Linked DNA regions of Homo sapiens: region 1 is linked to region 2. Evidence: promoter capture Hi-C in human tissues and cell types (Jung and others, 2019). All regions are on one chromosome and are shown on one strand. Each heading gives the region's core, a stretch centred on a gene start or on the middle of the fragment in contact. The rest is flanking DNA. Distances are from core to core; before and after follow the strand shown.

Region 1 (7,064 bases), core at 3,044-5,543, 1.2 Mb after region 2:
CCTTGACTTGCACAGGCTGCCCTGTGCCTTGGAGTTGCTGCAGTGACCTTGCCTGTCCTTGCTTGTGGGTCTGCTGCTGCTGCTTTGCTGCTGATGGCTTTAGCACAGAGGGGGCCCGTGCTTTTTATTGCTCACCAGAGGCAGATGCATCTACTGCTGTGCTGTCTCGCACACCCCCTATGCAGCATCATTAGGAAAGCTAGACACAAGTGATTCAGAATGGCTTAGGGGTTTATCTAAGCCAAGTCAGATAACCTCTTGAACTATCTTTTTGTAGCCATGAAAGCAGAGTATATTTCCAGAGGTATAAAGATGAAAACTGTTTAAATGGGTCAAAAAAAGTAACGTGACTTTTTTCTCCAACAGTTTGTTTTGTCCTAAAGCTGGTCAAGTAACTTGAATCTCACCTGTGATGAGAGCTACATTTTAACATGGGTTTGGTTATGGGAAGAGGCAAGACTTTGGTGGGAGAAACAGGACAAAGTGCCATTGACCTTGAGCGGAGTTCTCTGTGAAAATGGATTGGCTAATACCTCATGTGTTGCCAATGCAGGTGTACCCAGGAAGGATGTGGGAAACACTTTGCATCACCCAGCAAGCTGAAACGACATGCCAAGGCCCACGAGGGTGTGTACGGATAGCCTGGGTGTGCTCCGAGGGGGATGCCAAATCCTGGGCGCCTTTGAATCTGTTCTGTGATCACGCTGAAAAGATGGGAACCCTGTGAACAGGGGACACCATCCTGCTTATTTGGGTCTTACACTCTTGTCCAAAGAGGCACTGTATATGTCTGTTTTTCCACTACCGTATCATTGCTGTTCACATGTAATGTGTTGTTTGTTCACAACAAGCGCCTGGTTACACATTACACTGACGAATGTGCTGATGCTCCAGCCATGGCTTTGATGCTTCTGTCATTTTTAACCTCTTCTATTAATATTTACTGCCTGTGCCATTCTTTTCCTTGTTGGCCATTCACAAGGCTTGGATAATCGTGTGACATTTTGAGAGCCATCAGATGTTACGTTTCTCAAAAAAAAAAAAAAAAGACTTGATTATATTAACTATTTGAATCTATGATCTGTTTCCTTGAGGGATTTTTGCTAATCTGTATTTCAATTTCCCAGGTCCTAGAATTTATGATTTTTTTTTTTTTAAGAGGTTAGTAGCTAACAGTGAGAGGCAGCCTCATTGTTTTTAGTTTCTAGTTGGGTGGAACTCAGCCCTAGTGTTGTATACTTATTAATCCCATTTTAGTGCTTTGCACATATCCATTGTTATTCAGTGTTTTTCTCTGGGTCCTTCCAGTTTATTTTCTTCCTTAGCTGTACTCTTTTAAAAAAAAAAAACAAAAAAAAACTTTTTTTTTTTTTTTTGTGATAAAGTTAAAATATAATGTACCCTACTTTTTTTGTGCAGTATGACACTTACAAGATGGCCAGACTAGAGGAAGCCAGAGGTGGGCATGGTAACACTACTGAAAAGTTGGTGGTGTGCCATGGACAAGGGACCGACTGCAGAGTATGTTTGCTGAGGAAAATAGAGGCGAGGATAGAGCAGGCAGGGGAAGGGAAATAAGACATGGAGATAGGAGGTTAAAGCAGTTGGGAGTCCATACACAGCCTACCCAACTTCCTGAGAACTCTTAGAGAGGAAAAGGCATCCTTAGGCATCCTTCCTGTGAAGTTTGCCTATTCCGTGATCACGCTGAGAAGATGGGAACTCTGAAGTTTGCTTCACAGGAAGGTAAAATCCTTAAAGGGAGGCACCTTGCTGTGCCACTGTTCAGTTTTACTATAACATCAATCTTTTTTTAGTTTTTATTCCCACCTCAAGAGGCTGAGTTGAATACTATTAGGCGGGGAATGGAAAATTATATAGGCACCTAAGTTTCCTTTCTAGTTATGGTCAGTGTTTACACTGAGTATTCATGACAGACAATGCACCAATTTTTTTAATAGGCTATGTATGTCAAAAAGGATGTTCCTTTGTGGCAAAAACATGGACGGAACTTCTGAAACATGTGAGAGAAACCCATAAAGGTAAGGCAGGCATGAATGGCAGGCATGGTGTAAATGTTTGTCCCCACAGAACTGATTTAGTGCTTTTCAAGAGTGAAATGCTGTGTGCTTTAAAGTAAAAGGGTTTCTCTATGATATTTTGTGAAGTGCTGGGTATGATGTTGTTGGAAAGGTGAGCAGAGCTGTGCCAGGTCTCTGAGCCACCCCACCATGCACAATTAGCATGCTGAAGGCGGTGGCAGGTCTGTAGTGAAGAATTTCGGGAGGCACTGCTGTTCTGTGGGACCGCCTGGGAAACAGTACCCTGCATACTGGGGGACAAGGAAGGACACTGGTCTGCTTCATTTTCTGTACCTCCCCACAGTCACCTTCCTGAGAGCCCTGCCTCTTGGCAAGTGAACAATGACTGTGTGGCATTTAAGAACTTCAGAGAATTGAGACAAACTTCCTAGGTGATAAAAACTGGGGTTGTTTCCTTGGGAATTTCTGATTTGTATATAGTGATCAGGTTTCAGGCACTGAATGTTACTTATATATTAGGTATTAATTTTTTCTAAATGGTAATATCTGGGGAAATTTGTGAAATTTGTCTGTCTGTCCCACCAGAGGAAATACTATGTGAAGTATGCCGGAAAACATTTAAACGCAAAGATTACCTTAAGCAACACATGAAAACTCATGCCCCAGAAAGGGATGTATGTCGCTGTCCAAGAGAAGGCTGTGGAAGAACCTATACAACTGTGTTTAATCTCCAAAGCCATATCCTCTCCTTCCATGAGGAAAGCCGCCCTTTTGTGTGTGAACATGCTGGCTGTGGCAAAACATTTGCAATGAAAGTAAGCACTCACCCTCATACTCATGGTCCTATAGTCTATGCTTTCACAACATGGTTTTCATATTAATATTTCATTAATAACTTTCTCTTTCATTGTAGCAAAGTCTCACTAGGCATGCTGTTGTACATGATCCTGACAAGAAGAAAATGAAGCTCAAAGTAAGTTGAAACTACTTAGGCAAGCTTAGTTTTCAAGTGGAAATTGTTTAAGGCCAGAAGGAGTCTGTTTGGAATTCTTTTCACCTGCTTTACTGTTTGAGTCTGCACTACTGTTGAAGACTTTACTTCCTCATAAAGCAATGTTGTACACTATATCTGCTGGTACATATGACTATCGTAAAATTAACTCAGACAGTTTTGATTTTGAATTCTAATCGTGTGTCTTCCTTATTCCCAAAGGTCAAAAAATCTCGTGAAAAACGGAGTTTGGCCTCTCATCTCAGTGGATATATCCCTCCCAAAAGGAAACAAGGGCAAGGCTTATCTTTGTGTCAAAACGGAGAGTCACCCAACTGTGTGGAAGACAAGATGCTCTCGACAGTTGCAGTACTTACCCTTGGCTAAGAACTGCACTGCTTTGTTTAAAGGACTGCAGACCAAGGAGCGAGCTTTCTCTCAGAGCATGCTTTTCTTTATTAAAATTACTGATGCAGAACATTTGATTCCTTATCATTTCCATGGTCTTTGTTCAAAGTGTCTCTTTCCTGGGTCTCTTGAGTTTCTTTATATGCCTTCTCCTCATTTTTGCTGAAAGCACGAAGAACACACATTAAAGCTTTTCCTCCTTGAACAGCTTGTGGCCTAGATGAGAATGTAGCTATTCCAGGCATAGTCTGGAGTATTTGATGAAATATCTCCTCCTAAAAAAGGGAAACAGCCAAAGATTAATTTAAAATCAGAGGCTTTGGTGCTTTCTAATGTTCTGCTTGAACATTCACAAAAACTGGCACCCTTGAATTGCTGCTGTCGGTTAAGTGATTAGCTAATCAGTTCATACGTATCTGGTTAAGTTGACTGAAATCTGTACAATAACACCATGTAACTAAACTGACATGCTGAATGCTTCCTAATTTTAAATCTCCACTTCGTCATGGCACGAAGAGGCTACGTTTGGCTCAGCATTACCCTCTCCCACAAACAGAAAGCACTGGGTTTGGGCATTGGCAAAATACCTCCTCATCCCCAAGGTGTCAGCCGAGCAGTTCTCAGCACTCTCTATTGCCCCTAACAGAGTCTCTCTCAGTGACTGAAACAAATGGATACCTGGGCTCAAGAAATTCTGCATCAGCTGGGTTGCGACCTATGCTTAAGTGACTCTACTGTGGAGCTGGATTACTAAGGATACCCTTAGTGGATGATAAAGTTATCTAACTTTTAAAAAAAAAAAGCAAAATAGGTATTCCATAAACTTATGGGATTGGAAACTACACACTTTCTAGAAGACAGTCTACGTAATTAATGCCCCTATAAGTACAAAGAAGAAACAAAAAATCTATAAAGTTTCTAATTTTCCTGTTTAAGGGTTATTCTACAATTTATAAAACAATAGTATATTGCTTTTAAGGAATAATGTGTTCATATGGCAAAATACGCTGTAATGGAAACTATATCTACAGTATGCTTAGTTTTGAAAAGCAAACTAGAAAGCTGTTAACATCACTGGGTGGAAGAATTACCAGTCACTTTGTCTTTATATTTCAGATTTTCTACAATTTTTTTTTTTTTTTTTTTTTTTTGAGACGGAGTCTTGCTCTGTCACCCAGGCTGGAGTGCAGTGGCGCGATCTCGGCTCACTGCAAGCTCCGCCTCCCGGGTTCACGCCATTCTCCTGCCTCAGCTTCCCCAGTAGCTGGGACTACAGGTGCCCGCCACCACGCCTGGCTAATTTTTTGTATTTTTAGTAGAGACGGGGTTTCACCATGTTAGCCAGGTTGGTCTCAATCTCCTGATCTCGTGATCCGCCCACCTTGGCCTCCCAAAATGCTGGGATTACAGGCGTGAGCCACCGCGCCTGGCCTACAATTGTATTTTTAGATCAGAAGACCCAAAGCACAAGCAGTGGCTTGTACCTTCTTTACTTACCATTTCATTTTCTGACACGTCTACATTTTTTCCTTTCTTTATGGTAATCTGGACTAGGTGTTTTTTCTTAATCCACTGCTGAATCTGTTTAGTCTTTGTGTCCAAATCATGTTGTCCAATATTTGAAGACAAAATCAGTTCCTTTCTCAGGGTTGGTCCTGGTTTGAAACAGATAGGGTGCAAGGACTACTGACTAGTCCACTGTGAACCCTGAACTTCCCAACATGCCCATCATAAAATCCTAGGTTGCCACCTGACAATCTTCTCATCTGGCTTTCAGTTTCACAGACCAGTAAATGTCTTTTCAAATGGGGAAGATACACATAAAGGTACCAATTTTTTACCTGCCCTGGAAGGGTACTTAAAATCTGAAATGCTTCCATTTATTGTTAACCATCGTTTGTTGAAAGAACACCAAAAGATAGTCGTTTAAAGGATCAAGTTTGGCTTCATGGTGCACTTAACATCCTTATCTATCAGCTGTGGGTTGGCATCTGGGAGTGCACTACCCACTCCTTTTGAGATGCTCTCCTTGCTATAAGGGGTCAGCCAGACTGTTGGACAGGTAAGGGTCCCTACATCCTGTGTTCATGCCCTCTGTCTCCAGAAATCCTGCCTACTGGAAAATTATAGAGAAGGAACCGGCCACTCAATAAAGGTGTTGGGACAATTGAGAAGTTTATAGATGACAAAAAGTTAGGTCTCCCCAGGTATACTAATGTTCTACAGGTGAAAAATACAACTTTAAAACAAACAGAAGAAAAGACAGAATGGTTTGTGATCTCAGGATAGGGGATGGAACTCATTAAGAAAAAAAGGCAAAATGAAAAATCTAACTGGGATACGGTTTTTTCCATCATACACAACAGAGAACCCTATAAATCGGAGAAAAACCATCTACGTAGAAAAATAAAGGAATATAAACACGCAATTCACAGAAGAAAAAAGTGAAATACACATTAATTTCTCACCATTAAAATGACAAATGAGGGAGGAGGTAGAGAAACTGCATACACTGCTGCTGAGCAGTTTGATCCATTTAGGTTCATAGACCCTAGAGTATGCACCAGGGTTCATCATAAAGATTGGGGGCCAGGTGTGCTGGCTCACGCCTATAATCCCAGCACTTTGGGAGGCTGAAGCAGGCAGATCGTTGGAGCTCAGGAGTTCAAGACCTGAGCAACATAGCGAGACCCCATCTCTACAAAAAAAAAAAAAAAAAAAAAAGGCCAGGCATGGTGGTGTGCACCTGTGGTCCCAGCTGTGTGGGAGGCAGAGGTGGGAGGATTGCTGGATCCCAGGAGATGGAGGCTGCAGTGAGCCGAAATCACACCACAGCACTCCAGCCTGGGCAACAGAGCAAGACTGTTTTTTTTTTTTTTTTTTTTTTTTTTAAACACAGGGTCTCGCTCTGTCACCCAGGCTGAAGTGCAGTGGCATGATCATGGTTCTTCACTGCAGCCTTTGCCTCCTAGGCTCAAGTGATCCTCCCACCTCAGCCTCCCAAGTAGCTGGGATCACAGGTTTGCACCACTACACCTTGCTAATTTTAAAATTTTTTGTAGAGATGGGGTTTTGCTATATTGCCCAGGCTGGTATTGAATTCCTGAGCTCAAGCCATCCACCTGCCTTGGCCTCCCAAAGTGCTGGGATTACAGACGTGAGCCACCACGCCCAGTGACCTTTTTTTTTTTAAGTGACATAGTTTGACGTCATTATCCTCCCTGGTTGGTCTCTTCTGAATATTGTTTTCCAGTCAACATCCTTGTTAAATGTGGCATTACAAAACTGAGCCGCAGATAACATGTGGTTTTCTGAAGGCACACAACCTCACGATGCAGTGCTGGGAGCAGTCATCTGATGCCTGTCCCCGTGCGCCATCCATTGAACTTTCATAATGATTGGCACTTTTTAGGAACTATGAAAAACAAACATCTTTGCTTAATATCCAATTCCTGACTTCTGTGAGGCTTAAATGACAAGTGCCTCGTCAAGTGACTGGTTGTATATCTAAGAGTGTTGCTACTGATATTGCAACACAATGCTTTGGCATGGGAGATGCTCTGTGAATCACTTCAGAGTCGAAAAGGTGCTTCCAGGCTAGGCGCAGTGGATCACGCCTGTAA
Region 2 (7,858 bases), core at 4,999-7,498:
TTTTCCTATTTCTCAGGTGCTGCCAAAAATGTACACATCAAGAAATGTGAGTTTCTGAATATAACATTAAAACCACATTACTGTATTTGTCTTTGTGTGAAGCTGAGAAACCAGGCAAGTTACTTAAGGTCTCTATGGCTGATCCTTGTCTATAAACTGGAGTTAATAATAGAATCAATCTCATAGGGTTATCCTGAGGATAAAATAAGACGCTATATATAACATAATTAGCATAATATCTGGCACATAAAAAGCCACCCCATAAATGTTAGCTGTTATACATAATAAAATACATTTTCTATTCATTTAGAACGTAAGCTCCAGGAAAACAAAGATTTTTGTAGTTTTAGTCACTGTTACATCTCCAGCCTCTACAGCAGTATCTAGTATAAATCAGACTTTCAATTAATATTGCTCAATTAATCAATTTAGAAATGTGTCACCCATAAACTTTTTTGACTAAGATACTGCCACTGTGCCAAGCTTAAATTTTCCATTTATAACCAGTAGATATTATATAAAGTACAAAACTTAATAAAAAGCATCAACACATTAACTACACAAACTTCAACTTTAAAGTTTGTTCTACTCAAAAATAGCTATTATAGGCCGGGCGCGGTGGCTCACACCTGTAATCCCAGCACTTTGGGAGGCCAAGGCAGGCAGATCATGAAGTCAGGAGTTCGAGACCAGCCTGACTGACATGGTAAAAACCTGTCTCTCCTAAAAATACAAAGAAATTAGCCAGGCATGGTGGCGTGCGCCTGTAATCCCAGCTACTCAGGAGGCTGAGGCAGGAGAATTGCTTGAACCCGGGAGGCAGAGGTTGCAGTGAGCCAAGATTGTGCCACTGTACTACAGCCTGGGTGACAGAACAGGACTCTGTCTCAAAAAATAAATAAACAAATAAATAAAATAGCTATTATATGACATCATTCTGATTTCATTTCATTCCTGCAATCTCTCTCGTAAGACTTTTTTAAATGCTGAAGTTGAAGCTATTAATCAGCTGTTGATGCCAATAAAATAAACAGCAACTGAGCCATATTCCAGAGATGATGAGCTATTTTATATTTGATGAGTACATTTTCCACTGAAACATATTCAAAAGATCAGTATTAATTATTGCATCTATATAGTACAACTTACATATCTAAACACAAATAATAAAATGTGTTAATGTCCACTTCCCATTTGTTTGGAAAAAGAATGAGTAAAAGGCAGGTGAACATGAATTATTTTAAATGCTACTTCCTTCTTTGATTAACATTTGATTAAGTGTAGTGATGATGGTGCATGTGAAAGAGTTTGCCAAGTACCTACTCAAAGCTACCCTACTCTTCTTCCATTGTAAAAGCATCGGAAATTGGCTCGTGGACAGCCTGGCAGTTAGGTGTGACCATGAGACTAAGTTCTCATGAATGGAATGGGAGAGTAAGCGATACATCCTACTCTCACGCTAGTGCGTGGACCTCCTTCCTACCAGCTAGAACCTAGATATGGTTGCGACTTACCTTGATCATACAAATGGTACCCTGGAGCAGTGATGCCCCATAAATCTTTCTGAAGTAATGAGTATGTTCTGTATTTGTGCTGTCCAATACAGAAGCCACTAGCCAAATGTGACTATTAAGCACCTGAATGTGGCTAGTATGAATGAGCTAAATTTTAAATTTAATTTGATTTTAATTAATTTCCATTTAAATAGTCACATGTGGCTAGCAGCTACTGTACTGAACAGCACAGTTGTAGAATCATTCTGTTAGCTGAGTGGGTTCCAAGAGGATTTCCTTCCCTGGACTGTTAACGTAAGTAAGAAACTTCTAGCTTATTGAGCCATTGCATTTTGGGGTTTTTACATAGACTTCATGGTAACTAATACAATGATTTTGATATAATATGTGAAACTACTAATAAATACCTCTGAGGAGGGAAGTAGAACTGGTTAAGAGGAACACAAAAGTGGCTTTTCCTTTTAACTCTACATACTTCATTTAGTTTGAAGTTCTTTTATAGTACTTTCCTTATAAGAACTTTTTATATGTAAACCATCAAACAGAACAAAGAAACAAAAACAGGTTTCCTAACTCAGTCTTTCTACACGGTTCTGTATATAAATTTTTAGAAGCTAAGTAATATCACTTTAGAAAAAGTAATGTGTACATTCCAAGATTAAAAAGAAGCATGCTGGGAATTAACTTAATTGTATATTATTACATAAAGCTCTCTGAAGGCAATCTGTGTGTTTAAGACATCTTTGCATTCATTCCTCTGTCCTATACTGCTTAACCATACTGCTTTACTACTCATATATATATTATCTGAATGAGTATCACATTAAAACTGGAAAAAATTGAAGACAAACATACTATACAAGGTCTAAGAATTTCATTTCTGCAAGTGCTCCAATCAAGCCTGTTCCTTATGGAAAGGACTCCATAGTACCTCTGTAATTCGTTCCATCTCTCAAGTCAGGCTGAGATGCTAGTTGTTCCTTGACGCCATCTAACCGCTGTTGCAGTTCTTCTGATGTTATTTCTCCTAAAACAATGAAAAACTGCTCATTTAAGAATTCTGAATTAAGTTTTATGAGACCTCATGAAGGGTAAGACTAATCTTTAGTAACCTATAGAAGACAAATGTCTTATTACTTTCATATGTTCTGTAAATTGAAGACAGTTAAAAATATTCAACTGGTACAAATGTGCATCAATTCGGTTGTGCTTCATTTATTAATCTTTTATTAAAAATTATTAAAATAAGATTTAATTTGAATAGTTGGTAAAGTGCTGCCAGTTGATACACTTAGGAATCTATAAGCTATAACTGTGGATTTTTGTCAGTTAAAAAGAAATTAAGGGAGCATTTATAGAGAAAACTTCAAATATTTACTTGAATTTTATCCCAAATACTTCATTATATGGGTCATCAATATACAAACACACAATATATAAACATACAAATTTCCATTAGTTCATTTGTAAAAACTTTATGGAACACATTGGGCTTTGGGGGGAGCTATTAATTCAGCTGAATAAATAAATTATAATACCCCAAATGAGTTCAAATTGGGTTTTAAGTCATATTTTATTTGTATAAAAATTACAAATAGGACCATATATGTAAATACTTAACACCATTATGTACATTAACCTGTTTCTTAGTTTGGCATTTGTATAATAGTGCTCCATGTCCCCTATTTTCACCTTATAAAATACAGAAGCCAGTGATTTTCTACTTTATTATACTAAAAAGTTCTTAAACTCACAAAAACAATATACTATATTTTCATAAAGAGAAGCAAGGAAAAAGAATACCAATTCTCCTTATCTTGAAATCCTTCCATCTAAATGATGAAAAAAGGGTGTTTCCTCTTTTACCCATCTCTTACCAGGGGTGCCTAAAAGATTATGGTCTCTCATAAGCCGATAATCTTCATCATTGAGTTCATTAATAAACTGATAATAGGCCTCTTCTCTGTGGAGACGCTCTTGCTGCCATCTTCTCTCATTTTCATGATGATTATGGTCTTGAGGTAAGGTTTCTTCACTGCCACCATCTGATCTCGATCTAGACTGATTCATCCTGAGATTCCTGGCTTTCTGTTCAAACAATATAAACAACATTCAAGGTGTTAAGTCATGGACCACATTTGGCTTTGTATTTTTAACTTGCAGTTTTTCTTAATTTTTAAATGTTGTCCCCTACCCAAATACTGTATTTGCCAAATCTTGCAGTGAGAAGCTTACATATAAAATGAAAAACAGCTTCTAGGAAATACAACACAATTGGCACTTACTTCTTTGCCTAAAGCCATTAAGTCAGACTGGATTTGGGTTTACCACACAATGCTCATGCCTGAATACCATAGTGATTATCTCATTTTTGACCATGTTGACGATCTGGAAAAGTTGATCCAGAAGTCCTCATTTATGTTTCAGGATCTGGGTACTTCACATTAATTACAAATTTTAGGCTTGAATTATGCACATTCTTCACTTAATGAGCAAAGGGATACTGGGATGATATAATTTACATTTGTTTTCAGCAAGGTATTCTTTCCAAAATAAGGCTCATGAATGTAATATTATCCCCCACTGCACTTTGATGAGGTGAAAATCATTTAGCCTAATTAATATCTACTGAACAAACTGGAAGGTGGTCTCTTATTAAAGCTTACCAGGAAGACTTTGAAACCCAACAGGAAACAAGACATCATGTATGGCTCAAGGATTGTGAAAGTGCATCAGAGCACTTTGTATCACCCCATATCAAGCCTCATCCTTAAGCCTGGAATGGTTAGTCCCAGGAGTTTCAGAATGCCAGTGAAACTTCCTGACTTTGCCTAAGAAACCACTATTTTTGGATTATATTTAAGTGTCACTCCTGAGAAGCTCACTTTTAAATTACATGGAAATCAAGAGAGAAAGATGTTTGTTTCACAAATATTTTAGAATTTCTTAAATACATCTATTCAGTAAGTCACACTAAAGCAATGGTTCTCAAACTCACTTAAGGGTATTTTTAAAAATCTAGATGCCCAAATCTCATCCCCAATCCTTGATTAGAGTTTTCCAGGGTAGGACCAGGTCTGCTGTTAAGAGCTAATTTGGGTGTTCTGCAGATGAAATAAACTATTCCTCGACAATTTCTGGCATGTCACTAAAGGGTATGAGTAATACAGCACCTGACTCAGTAGAGGCTGGAGGCTCAAATGGCTAGGCTACCAGTGAAGCAACTGTGCAACTCTGCCTCTCGAAATACACTAGGTATTTAATAAGCAAGCTGCTTTAAATATAAGGTGAAATTAGCCTACAAGTCTAAAATACTGTTGGAGTAAGCAACTATTCAATTTCACCTGTAACACTAAATTACAAATTCAAGGATTTTTTTCACTGTGGTTATTTTATTATGTCATTTTGAACAAATGACCTAGTAACATTATCCACTCAAATATGAATTAACACTACTAAAAACTCAAGATCTCTATCTTCAGATTAAGACCATAATTAGCAAAGAGCATATTTCGTAGGTACAGCAATAATAGGATTTTTGTAATAAATAATTTTACAAGTTGAAGCCTATCATAAAATCAAGTTACCCTAATATTATTTAAAACTTGAGCTTCTCCTTAAAGGTAATTTTCTTATACAGTTAATCACAATGAAAACAAAGCGAATACCTTATTTTCCTTTCAACACGCTTTTAACATATGCCATGGTATCCATCCTTCAATTGTTTGTGCCTTTTTTGAGAGCTGCCCATCTGAAGCAATAAAAGAGAGTTGAATAATTCAATAAACTGTTTCTTTAAAGGCCAGGAACGGGTGGTAGTCTCCCCACTCTGCTGCAAAGCCAAAGCAAATTCTCCAGTGGATTTTGTTAGACACATCTAGAAAATTAGATCCCCATACAATTAGGTCACGAAAACCTCCCGCAAGGCCCCTACCTTCCGCAACAAACTTAGGCCTTTCGTCCTACACTGTCACTGTTCCTGGGTTTACGCCTCCTCTCTCAAAGGCCTTCCTTCCTATCCCGTTCCCATTCGGATGTTACCAGGGTTAGGCGTCTCCGGCTTACTTCTAAACCTTGACTTTCTTGCCACCCCCGCCCTCCGTCCCGCTACTGGTTTCTTTCCCGGCCGTTGCGACGGAAGCTCGCGCCGGGGGACGATCCCCACTACGATAAATAAAGTGGGCTCAAGAGGCCCAACCAACCTCTTCCCAACCGAGCCTCAAGTAACGCTTCCCTTAGAGACCTAGATTCTCACAAGGAAGCAGGTGATAGACGGTGCATCCCAACCAATCACCAGCCAGCGGAGCGCAATAAGAAGGCAGTTAACCAATCGGAGAAGAGATGGGTGGCTCGAAGGATGGCCTGCTTTCCCCGGCGTCTCCAGGAAGTAGTGGTGGGACCCAGATCTTTCCCTCGAGCCCACCTCTCCAGGTCTTGGGCCTTCGCCCTCCTGTCCGGAGAACGTGTGCTGTGGGCGGCCGTTCTCTCGGGTGCTGGAGGCTGTGGTTGGGAGGCGGGATAGGCTTGCCGCCGCGCCTCCGGAGCCCGCTGTGCCCTCGAATTGGCCACTGAGGAGAGAAGCCGGAAGCCCGTGCTGCAGCGTGGGGTCGTCCAGCTGGAGGGGATACTCGGGAGGAAGAACGGCAGGCCCCAGCCCTTCTTTCCCGACAGCCACGCCGCCCACTTGGCGGCGGGGAGTCGCTCCGCAGCCGGCCCGGAGCTCGCCCGTGCAACTGAAAACTGCGTCCGTCGGGAGCTAGGGTGCCTGGCGTCCCGCGTTCCGCCCTCTTGCGCCGCCCTTACAGTGCCTCCTCCTCGAGGCCAAATGCCCGGCCGCTCAGCGCTCGTGGCAGCCGCGTAGTTGCAGAGACACGGTCTGCTTTCCAGGCTTGGGAAGTCCCAGCACTTAACTCTGCGCGTCGGTGTCGCTCGTTTGCCAGCCAGACTATAAAGTGCACCCAACGGTGTATGCGTCTCTTTACTTCCGGGTGTAACGTACTACCCAGCCAGGCCCTTTCCCTTGCTGTGCTTTGGAACCTGGAAATTACAAACCCTAATAAATTCTGAAGTCTGTCTGTCTGTCTATCTCTATTTGAGACAAGGTCTCATCCTGTCGCCCAGGCTAGAGCGATCGTAGCTCACTGCAGCCTCCAGCGATCCTCCCTCCTCATCCCAGTAGCTGGAACTACAGGCGCTTGCCATTAATTTCACATTTTTTCTTTTGTAGAGACGGGGGTCTCGCTATGTTGCCCAGGCTGGTTTCGTACTCGGCCTCAAGCAATCCTCTCACCTCAGCAAAATGGGATTACAGGCATGAGGCACCGCACCCCACTATATTTTGTGTTTTTTCACCTTCCCGCTAGGAAAGCAGTTTGAAACTCCCAACATTCCTCCCTCTGATTTTATTTCTGAGATGTGAGGCTTACTAAACTTACCTCACCGTTAGTTAAGATGCTGAGTAGGTCTCTGTCTAACCTGGTATAGTCCCCTTTCCTGACATCCCTACCATCTGATGACTTCATCACTGGAGAGTGCTCACAATGCCGTTACTTGTTATTCTTCCGTTTGTTCTTTCATTTCTGCATTAACTTTTGAGGAACTACCATATCCCCATTATTATGCTGGGCACCTGGATAACAAGCTACATGCAGTCCTTAGCATCAATGAGCTACCAGTGTAGTAAGGATCTATGGACAAGTGTTTAAAATAAGCATATGGATATGGATACTAAAATGGAAATATATAAAACAGCCTAGAAAGCCCTTCCAGATCTTTCTTCTGCTTACATTTACAGGCTGTTGTCTTGGCACTCCGAAACTGCTTGAAGTTCCGCCACAAGATATGGGAACTCCTAAGCAACCCCCAACTCCACTTTTACCTAATTTCCTCTGTCTCCCAAAACTCAGCTCAGTTCTCATCTTTAAGGAATTTTTCCTGATACCTCTGAAATAACACCCTTACCTCACCCTCCAGCCCGATATTTACACATAAAACTAAGCAAATGTCCCTTTTGGGGGCTCCCATACTCCCTCTATATATAAAACCCTATTTTAGCATGTATTCATGTATTTAACAAATAGTGAGTGTGACTATGTATTAGGTGCTGGTGATGACAGCCGTGAATCAGACAGTCATGTCCTCATAGAATGAAGTCCTTGCCCTCTTTTCCCATGGAAAAAGAGCCATTGAGCAAATACTTAAGATGATTTTCTGTTTTTAGGTCTTTACTACCTAGAGTCTGAACTGCTTAAGTGTGATCAAATGGTCTAATTCATTTTTGTAATCCCAGAACTTAGCACAGCACTTGGCAGAACATTCTCCTCAGCCTACTGCATAGATGAGCA

Evidence for each region. The method cuts DNA at HindIII sites, captures the fragments that hold promoters and counts their contacts. A contact is called where the count stands out against the background at its distance.
Region 1: a contact is called between a fragment that was not itself captured here and the fragment with the promoter of RNF6 in region 2, in 1 of the 25 tissues and cell types used here (dorsolateral prefrontal cortex).

The regions. Positions count from the first base shown.
Region 1 is chr13:27,432,178-27,439,241 of GRCh38, forward strand. It overlaps GTF3A (general transcription factor IIIA), which reads left to right. Exons shown (of 9, transcript NM_002097.3): 5 at 554-627; 6 at 1,962-2,042; 7 at 2,628-2,857; 8 at 2,956-3,015; 9 at 3,256-3,646. The coding sequence ends at 3,420. MTIF3 (mitochondrial translational initiation factor 3) reads right to left here. Exons shown (of 5, transcript NM_152912.5): 4 at 4,939-5,096; 5 at 3,466-3,716. The coding sequence ends at 3,498. Among named protein-coding and RNA genes, the nearest start is that of GTF3A, 11 kb to the left of the region's middle. RefSeq lists an enhancer at 2,308-3,507. The HindIII fragment of the contact is 5,770 bases long and covers 1,409-7,064 here.
Region 2 is chr13:26,216,066-26,223,923 of GRCh38, forward strand. It overlaps RNF6 (ring finger protein 6), which reads right to left and starts at 6,249. Exons shown (of 5, transcript NM_005977.4): 1 at 5,938-6,249; 2 at 5,183-5,265; 3 at 3,392-3,602; 4 at 2,446-2,541. The coding sequence starts at 3,584. RefSeq lists enhancers at 5,021-5,902, 5,903-6,784, 5,930-6,309 and a silencer at 5,430-5,479. The HindIII fragment of the contact is 8,375 bases long and covers 3,960-7,858 here.